2 separate regions of the Homo sapiens genome follow, and region 2 is linked to region 1. Evidence: promoter capture Hi-C in 16 types of primary human blood cells and fetal thymus (Javierre and others, 2016). All regions are on one chromosome and are shown on one strand. Each heading gives the region's core, a stretch centred on a gene start or on the middle of the fragment in contact. The rest is flanking DNA. Distances are from core to core; before and after follow the strand shown. Region 1 holds the start of TIAL1 (TIA1 cytotoxic granule associated RNA binding protein like 1). Region 2 overlaps LINC03036 (long intergenic non-protein coding RNA 3036).

Region 1 (4,053 bases), core at 42-2,541:
GCTTTCGACGCACAAACAGATTAGGAAGAGGCAACACCTAGAGAGCAAAAGGAGTTTAACAACTGGTTGTCAGTTTAGCGTAGGGAGCGCTCAAAGTAAACTTCTTTATCCAAGAAGGGAAAGATGCTCGGGCAGCAAAAGGTATCCCTTATGTACTTCAAAAGTAGCGGGCGCTAGGCGGGTGTTTCTGACAGCGTGGGCGGGGGCACGTGGGGCATAAAGAGAGAAGGGGCTTGAGTGGTGAAAGAGTGTCCTGCTTCCTCCGAGAGCTTAGCTGGGGAGAAGAGCTGGGAGCGACTCGAGCTGAGGACGTGGAAGGGGTGAGTGCTAATTCCTCAGGGCCCGCGGGGCCCACCCCCGGGCCCACCCCCAATCCTACCCCCGCCAGGCCCTTCCCCCGTGGGCGCCGGCAGCTCCAGGCCCAGCCCAGGGCGTCCAACGCGGAGGGGGTGCAGGAGTTCTCCTGGGCCTGACAGCCTCAGCCGTGCAGAAACCCGGCCTAGGGAGGGCATGCAAAGAAGGACGCCAGAGAAAAAGGTCGAGACAAGCCCCAGACCCCAGGAAGTGACTGTTTGGGGGAAGGGAGGATTTCCTTCCCAAGGAAAAGGGGACAGATGAGGAATGCACTTCGCGTCCACGCCGCCCTGGTCAGGGAGCCGCCTAGAGTCCCGGCTTCGGCCCAGTCTCTCCTGCTCCCTCCCTTAGCGTCCCGCGGTGCCCGGGCCTCTTGGCGCCTGGCACCCCTCGTCTCGGGTACTCACAGAGTCCGGGGCTGCCCGTCGTCTTCCATCATGGTGGGTGCGACGGAGCGATCCCGGGACAAGGGGGAGGGCAGGGTTGGGGAGGGGAGGGGGTGGGGAGGAAGGGGAGGGGGGCTCTGGGCACCGGCTGGGGACAGAGGAAAAGGCACCGAACCCTGCTCTCGGGCTCTCTCCCCCCAGCCCGCTCCGGACACTGCGCTCCAACCAGGAGGAGCAGGAGGAGGAGGAGGATGAACAAAATGGCCGCCGCCACCAGCCAGGCAGGAAACAGGGCAGAGCGCAGGCGCGACCCGCCAGGTCACCGCTCAGGCCAGCCGCGACAGCCTGCAAGGGGGACGACCGAGGGGAGAGAAAAAAGGGCCGCCGAGGAAACCCTGGGACCCGCTCACGACGGATCACGTCGTCGCTGTGGGCCTCTGGCCGGCCGAAGCCCAGCCAGCTCCGGGAGAGATCGGGCAAAAAGAGAAACGTCGTGAAGCCGAAGTCTCTGGGAATTGTGGTCCTGGAAATGAGAGAGGGAAGCACTTCTGCAGAGGACTTCTGGAACCTGTGGTTAAGAGGAGCCGCCGGCGCCCACCCGCGCTGGGACGTGAAGAGGAGACTTCTGGGTAGTGTAGTCATACGTGAGGACGTGCGACGACCAGGAAGTCGGCGGGCTGGGAGGTAAAGGGAAGAATAAAAGCGACATTGAAAGGCGGGGAGACCAAGTGGGGAAAAGCGCTGTCTGGGAAAGCGAACTACAAGTCCCAGAGTTCCTCGCGCCGGGGGCTGTCCTCGGACTGCTCCAGGCATTGTAAGGCTCTTCTGTTGGCCCAGTCTGAGCTGCTGCTCCGCCTTCGTCCAGCCCGAGAGCGGTTTCTTCAACTGTGGCTCAGGCAGCACTCTCCCTCCGCGTGGTGTCCGAGCCAGCAGGGCCGTCCGGCCCTCCTGTGTTCATCAGAACGGCTGGCTCGCGTTAGTCAACCGCCGCTTCGCGCGACAGTCAGAAGAGAGGCTGTGCTGGCGGGGACCCGGAGGGGTTGGGGTGTTTTGGGGACTCGATTTCCCACAAATAGGTATTTCTAGCCTATTTGTTAAATACAAGTAGGTGGCCTGCTTGTAAATTGCTTTACAAGTTTCAGAGGTTTCCCTATCAAATGTCTCATCGGATAGTGGGGTAAGAAGAGGAGCCCTATTATAATGACTTGCCCAACTCCCCCCGTATTCTTGGAGTTAAAAGAAAAAAAAATCCTTGGGCAGAGACGTGCACAAACATAAAGTTGCGTTTACAGACATCAGTCATGTGGGCTAGAAACGCAGTTTTGCATGAAGATAGGGGAAGCCATGTTCATACTAGCTCTGCATCCCTGTAGAATTTGTCTTCTCACCCCCCACAACAGTTCCTGGTGTGCTTTTTTCCTCCTCTAAGTACCTTCAGGAGAAAGTACTTGGTCTTGTAGCTTAGTGAAGAGTGGCGATGAAGAAAGATCTTTCAGCCCATTGCCAGAACTTAACTGCCCCGGTTAGTAATGGCTTAAGAGTTGCTTCTGCCGACATGTACTAAGTGCATGTCGACCTCTGCAAGTGGCGGTGCGTATGCGTGCCACTGAACATTAATCTTGAAAGCAGAATCAACCATGCAGCAAGCCCTTATGTTGTCCATTTTCAGGGGAGGAAATTTCAACCTGAAAGACTTCATAGAGACACGGCAAAGGAGTTGAGCCCCATAAGAGTCCGTAGGAACAACAAAAGGCTCAGACGCCAGGACCCATGGCTAAAATGTATGGGCTGGGGATGCGGGCGGGAGCGGGGGGAAGGGAACTAAAGCTAGAGAGGACCTTGTAGAACCGTGTTGTCAAGAATCTATTTCATGCTGAGGAATTTGAGCTTTCTCTTCCAGGCAGTGAGGAGCCACTCAAAGGTTTTGTCTATGTTTTTAATTGGACCTAGGTGTAGAACTGGATTTAATTATAATCCAATTCATTAACCCATGCCTGGCCCGCTGTGATAGTTTCCTGTTGATGCTGTAACAAATTACTGCAAATTTAGATACTTAAAACAACACGAATTTATTTTCTTACAATTCTGGAAGTCAGAAGTCCAAAATCAGTTACACTGGGCTAAAATCAAGGTGTCGGCAGGGCTGGTTCCTTGCCTTTTCCAGCTTCTAGAGGCTGCCTGCATTCCTTGGCTCTTGGCCCCATCCTCCATCTTCAAGAAAAGAAGCATAGTATCTTCTTTCTTCTCTGCCTCTGTACGTACATCGTGATTCTCCTGCCACCCCTTTTCATTTACGAGAACCTTTTGTGATTACTTTGGGCGAAGATTATCTCAAGATTCTTAATCACATCTGCAAAGTCCCTTTTAGCATAACATTCCCAAATTCTGGGAATTAGGACATAGAAATCTTTGGTGGACCATTATTCAGTTTACCGCACCCACCTTTATTACTTTAGTTTTGATTATAGCCACAAACCCACCACACTAAAAAGTTATAATGACACGAGTTTATATCTGTATCTATGCTATACCTCCTACACACAATAACACACACCCCTGCCTTCGCTTGGGGTAACCATCTTTCTGAATCCTGTCTTTACTATTTATTGCTTTCCTTCTACAAGGTTTTATTCCACATGTACATAGTCCTAAAAATCATATGTATATACATGTATATTTGAGTTTTTTTTTAACTTAGTAAAAAGAATATGCCCACTACAAACTAGAATGGTTAAAATGGGCATGTTTACTGGCAGTGAAATTATTAAGGTTAAAATCCAAAACACTAACACCACCAAGTGCTGGTGAGTATGAAAAGCAACAGGAACTATCATTCTTTGCTGGTAGGACTGCAAAATGTTATAGCCCCTTTGGAGGACAGCTTGTCAGTTCCTTACAAAACTAAACATAATGCCTAGGTACTTACCCAAATGAGCTGAAAACATGTTTACATAAAAACCTGCACACAAATGTTTACAGCAGCTTTGTTCATAATCATCCCAAATTGGAAGCAACTAAGATGTCCTTGATATAAGTGAATGGATAAACTGTCGTACAAGGTGGTACATCCATGCAAAGAAATATTGTTCAGTGATTTTTTTAAAAAGAGCTATTGATATGGTTTGGCTCTGTATCCCCACCCAATCTGATCTTGAATTGTACTCCCATAATTCCCACGTGTTGTGGGAGGGACCTGGTGGGAGATAATTTGAATCCTGGGGGCAGTTTCCCCCAGACTGTTCTTGTGGTAGTGAATAAGTCTCACGAGATCTGATGGTTTTATCAGGGGTTTCCGCTTTTGCATCATCCTCAT
Region 2 (4,164 bases), core at 1,287-3,786, 570 kb before region 1:
CCAAGGAGAACTGAGGTTCCAGGTGGAATTAAGGTTGCTAATTAAATGATGTTAGAATAGGGGCCTGGCGCAGTGGCTCACACATGTAATCCCAGCACTTTGGGAGGCCGAGGCAGGTGGATCACTTGAGGCCAGGAGTTTGAGACCAGCCTGGCCAACATGGCAAAACCCTGTCTCTACTAAAAATACAAAAATTAGCTGGGCATGGTGGCACGCACCTGTAATTCCAGCTACTCGGAAGGCTGAGGCAAGAGAATCGCTTGAATATGGGAGGCAGAGGTTGCAGTGAGCCGACATTGCACCACTGCACTCCAGCCTGGGTGATGGAGCGAGACTCTGTCTCAAAAACAAACAAAAAAAGATGTTAGAATTGGGAGATCATTCTGCACATTCTGCATTATCCCAGTGAACCCAGTGGGACCACCAGGGTCCTGGAAGGTGGAGGAGGGAGACAGAAGAAAGAACAAAGAGGTGCCACGTGGAAAGGACTCAGCTACCTGCTATCCCTGGGTTTTGAGAAGGGAAAGGCCACGAACCACAGGAATGGCAGGCAGCCTCCAGACGCTGGGAAAGGTAAGGAAACAGGTTCCCCGCCAAGAGCCTCCAGAGGGAATTCAGCCCAGTGAGACCCACTGTGGACTTCTGACATCTAGAGCGCTGAGAAAATCAGTGTGTTGTTTTCAGCCACTATATGGGTGGTAATTTGTTACAACCGCAACAGGAAGCGAACCTGCCCCCACCAAGTGTCATCGCCTGTTTACTTGTCTGTCTGCCCAATTCGAGTGTAAGCTCCATGAGGTCAGAAGTACGTCAGTCTTATTTGCCACTTATCCCCAGACCTTGATGGTAAATAAATGAATTTTAGAGATGGAAAGGGCCAAGAAATCACTTAGGCCAGCCCAATTATTTTAAACTGAAATTTAAAACTAAGATCCAGAGACAGGAACTGATTTTGCTCGAGGCTACTCAATTTATACAGAGCTTGGATCCTCCATCCGCTCCCTGGGGCCCACCTGCCTTCTGGTCACTAAGCCGTAGAAGCCTGAAGACAGACACAACTGTGGAGAGGCAGCTCCGAGCACACAAAATCCCTGGAGAACTCAGGACGGCTGGGAGAGGATCAGTGCAAATCAGATAAGACCAGAAGAAGATGGCTAAAATGACTTGAGCAATCTTTAAAATGTTAGTCCCGGCCCAGCGAGGTGGCTCACGCCTGTAATCCCAGCACTTTGGGAGGGTGAGGCGGGCGGACTGCTTGAGCCCAGGAGTTCTAGACCAACCTGAGCAACATGGCAAAACCCCATCTCTACTAAAAATATGAAAATTAGCCAGGCGTGGTGGTGCATGCCTGTAGTCCCAGCTACTCAGGAGGCTGAGACAGAAGAATCGCTTGAACCCAGGAGGCAGAGGTTGCAGTGAGCCAAGCTCGTGCCACTGCATTCCAGCCTGGGCGACAGAGCAAGACTGTCTCAAAAATAAAGTTAAATGTTAGTCCCAAGGGGCAGCTGATCCACCAGTAACAACCAGGGCAGAACTGTGCCCAGCACCTGATCAGCTGAATTCAGGAGACTCTCCACCTGAAGCTTCAGAATGGGGAAACAAGAAAAGGGGTACTAATGTCAAACTTGAGGCCCGCCTTCAAGAAGCTCAGCATTTCACACCTCGGCCAGAGCCAAAGCTTTGGGCTTTGAGCAAATTAGGAAAAGACACTTCTTCCACAAGGTATCTTTTTCCATCTGTCAGTGAAGTGTCATAATATACTGATTTCGTTAGAAGATACTTTACTCAAGGTCGGCCAGAAAATGATCACAGAGTTACTATGTCTATGAAGTAAAGGTGCCCCCTTAGATGGGAAGCGGTTGTGCAGTACACAACCTGCAGAACTGTACACAACCTGCAGAACCACACATAGCATTCTTTGCTTGGCAGTCTGGTCCCATCCTTTCCACAGCCCTCATATCCCCGCTTCCCCTCCCTCTGCCTAGAGCCCTCAGACCTGTTGGAGAACAGTCTCAATCTACAGGTTACCATTTTACATGTAACTCCTTCCTGTCAGCTTTTTACTTCCCTCCCCCTGCAGACAGCAGGGATTGACGACGGGTGAGAGAAGGCTGATGGCCCCATTTAGGGAAGCACAGGAGGAGGTGGGGAGGCCGGATGTAGTGAATTCCAAATGAATGAGTATCCACGGGCCAGGGGATGATCAAGGAGGTGTGAGGGTTAACAGTGCGGGCCTTGAAGAAATGCCACCTACCAGCTAGCTGTGAGCTGCTGGGCATGCTTTTAGCCTCCCAAAACCTCATTTTCCCTTTTGTGAAATGCTTATCATTGTAGGCCTGCTGGGAGGATTTCAGAAATGATATGAGTGAATGCTTAGTGCACGGTAAGGGCTCAGCACCTGTGAGCTACTGTTATTGCTATTATCAGCATCATCAGCCCAGGGACATCTGCCCTTCCGCCTGTCAGCCTCCAGGCAGCTCCTGCTTTAAACAAAATTGGGACACTCCAGATTTCTAAAAGAAAACCACATGGCAGGGAGGAGGGCAAGTGCTGGAGGGAGAAAGGATTACTCACTTTACCAAAGTACCCACTACTGGATAAACAGAAACACCCAGACTGCTTTTAAATGGGGTTGGTTTTGTTCAGGGGACATTGCTGACACGGACTGGAATGTGTCCTCTCCTGCCCCTGCCGCTGTGTGTTGCTGGCCAGTCTCCCGCACATCTGGACCCCAGAAGTCCCAAGAATGACCGGGTGCATCCAAGGAGGCACAAACCCAGGTTCGGGGAGTGAGAGAAAAATGGGTGCAAATCTCAGTCCTGCTGCTCCTGAGCTTCTCAGCCTTGGGCTCCATGCTGAGCTTTGCCCCCGTCTCCAACAGGTCACCAGCGCACCTGCCTTGCGGGGCAGGGTTGGGGGTGGGGGGCACATGGAATAGTGCATGTCAAGCACCTGGTGCTGATGGTGGTGGTATTATTACCAGCTGGGAGACTTTAGCCCAAGGCAGGGGGTGTGAGATGACACCACGGCACCCGTTTCCCATTCTCCGCATCCCCTTCCAGCCTTGTCCACACACAGAGAATTCTGACATGGTCGTCACCTCCACCTGGCCAGAATATGGTAGCCTACCTTTTCGACAGAATAACCAAATGTATTTTTTTTCACAGTATTACATGTTTCATTTAGAACAAGGGTGTCCAATGTTTTGGCTTCCCTGGACCGCAATGGAAGAACTGTCTTGGACCACACATAAAACACACTAATGACAGCTGAAGGGCTTAATTAAAAAAGGTCTGTGCATAATCTCATAATGTTTTAAGAAAGTTTACAAATTTGTATTGGGCCGCATTCAAAGCTGTCCTGGGCCACATGAGGCCACCTGGCCACAGGTTGGACAAGCTTGATTAAGAATGAAGTCAACTGCACGTATAAAAGGATACCTGGACGTGGTGTGGTGGCTCACGTCTGTAATCCCAGCACTTTGGGAGGCCAAGGCAGGTGGATCACCTGAGGTCAGGAGTTCAAGACCAGCCTGGCTAACATGGTGAAACCCTGTCTCTACTAAAAATACAAAAATTAGCTGGGCATCGTGGTGCATGCCTGTAATCCCAGCCACTCGGGAGGCTGGGGCACCAGAATCGCTTGAACCTGGGAGGTGGAGGTTGCAGTGAGCCGAGATCATGCCACTGCACTCCAGCCTGGGTGACAGAGTGAGACACTGTTTCAAATAAATAAATAAATAAAAGGATACCTGACTTGAAGTGGCTGAAATAATAGAGATGTTATAATTATCTCGTGTAACAAGTCACCAAGTCATCAACAAAAATATCACTAAGGTTTGTTTTTTGTTTTAACTTTTCTGGTAAGCCATCACCTTGCGCCAGCTTTGTGTCCTTAAGCCTTATCACCTCAGCTCTATAGCCTGAGCTGAAGAAGGTGAGGGCCCTGGTTCTTTATTTCTTCCCCCTTTTTATATAAGGAAGCAAACCCCTTCCCAGTATCCTCCCAGCAGACAGCAGATGTCCGCTGAGATCTCCAGGGTGAGAATGGGTCACCAGCCCTCCCCTTACCCAGTGGTGACTAGGGGAAATGGGATGTTTCTGCTTAAACCTGTCACAGTTATGCCCCGAGGCTGAGGGAAGGAATCAGAACAAAGTTAAGTCT

Evidence for each region. Contacts are between HindIII fragments. The CHiCAGO score rates a contact against its expected background, and 5 or more counts as called.
Region 2: a fragment that was not itself captured here is called in contact with the fragment with the promoter of TIAL1 in region 1 in 1 of 17 cell types (fetal thymus); the score reaches 5.3 in fetal thymus.

The regions. Positions count from the first base shown.
Region 1 is chr10:119,595,673-119,599,725 of GRCh38, forward strand. TIAL1 (TIA1 cytotoxic granule associated RNA binding protein like 1) reads right to left here and starts at 1,292. Exons shown (of 12, transcript NM_003252.4): 1 at 762-1,292. The coding sequence starts at 793. It overlaps LOC105378512 (a long non-coding RNA gene), which reads left to right. Exons shown (of 2, transcript XR_946358.3): 1 at 1-320; 2 at 942-4,053. RefSeq lists silencers at 305-404, 815-924 and enhancers at 523-1,521, 935-1,524, 1,522-2,519, 2,415-2,504. The HindIII fragment of the contact is 6,118 bases long and covers 1-4,053 here.
Region 2 is chr10:119,020,906-119,025,069 of GRCh38, forward strand. All of the region lies in intron 2 of LINC03036 (long intergenic non-protein coding RNA 3036), which reads right to left. Among named protein-coding and RNA genes, the nearest start is that of LINC03036, 6.6 kb to the right of the region's middle. RefSeq lists enhancers at 1,402-2,044, 2,045-2,687, 3,873-4,164. The HindIII fragment of the contact is 1,721 bases long and covers 1,677-3,397 here.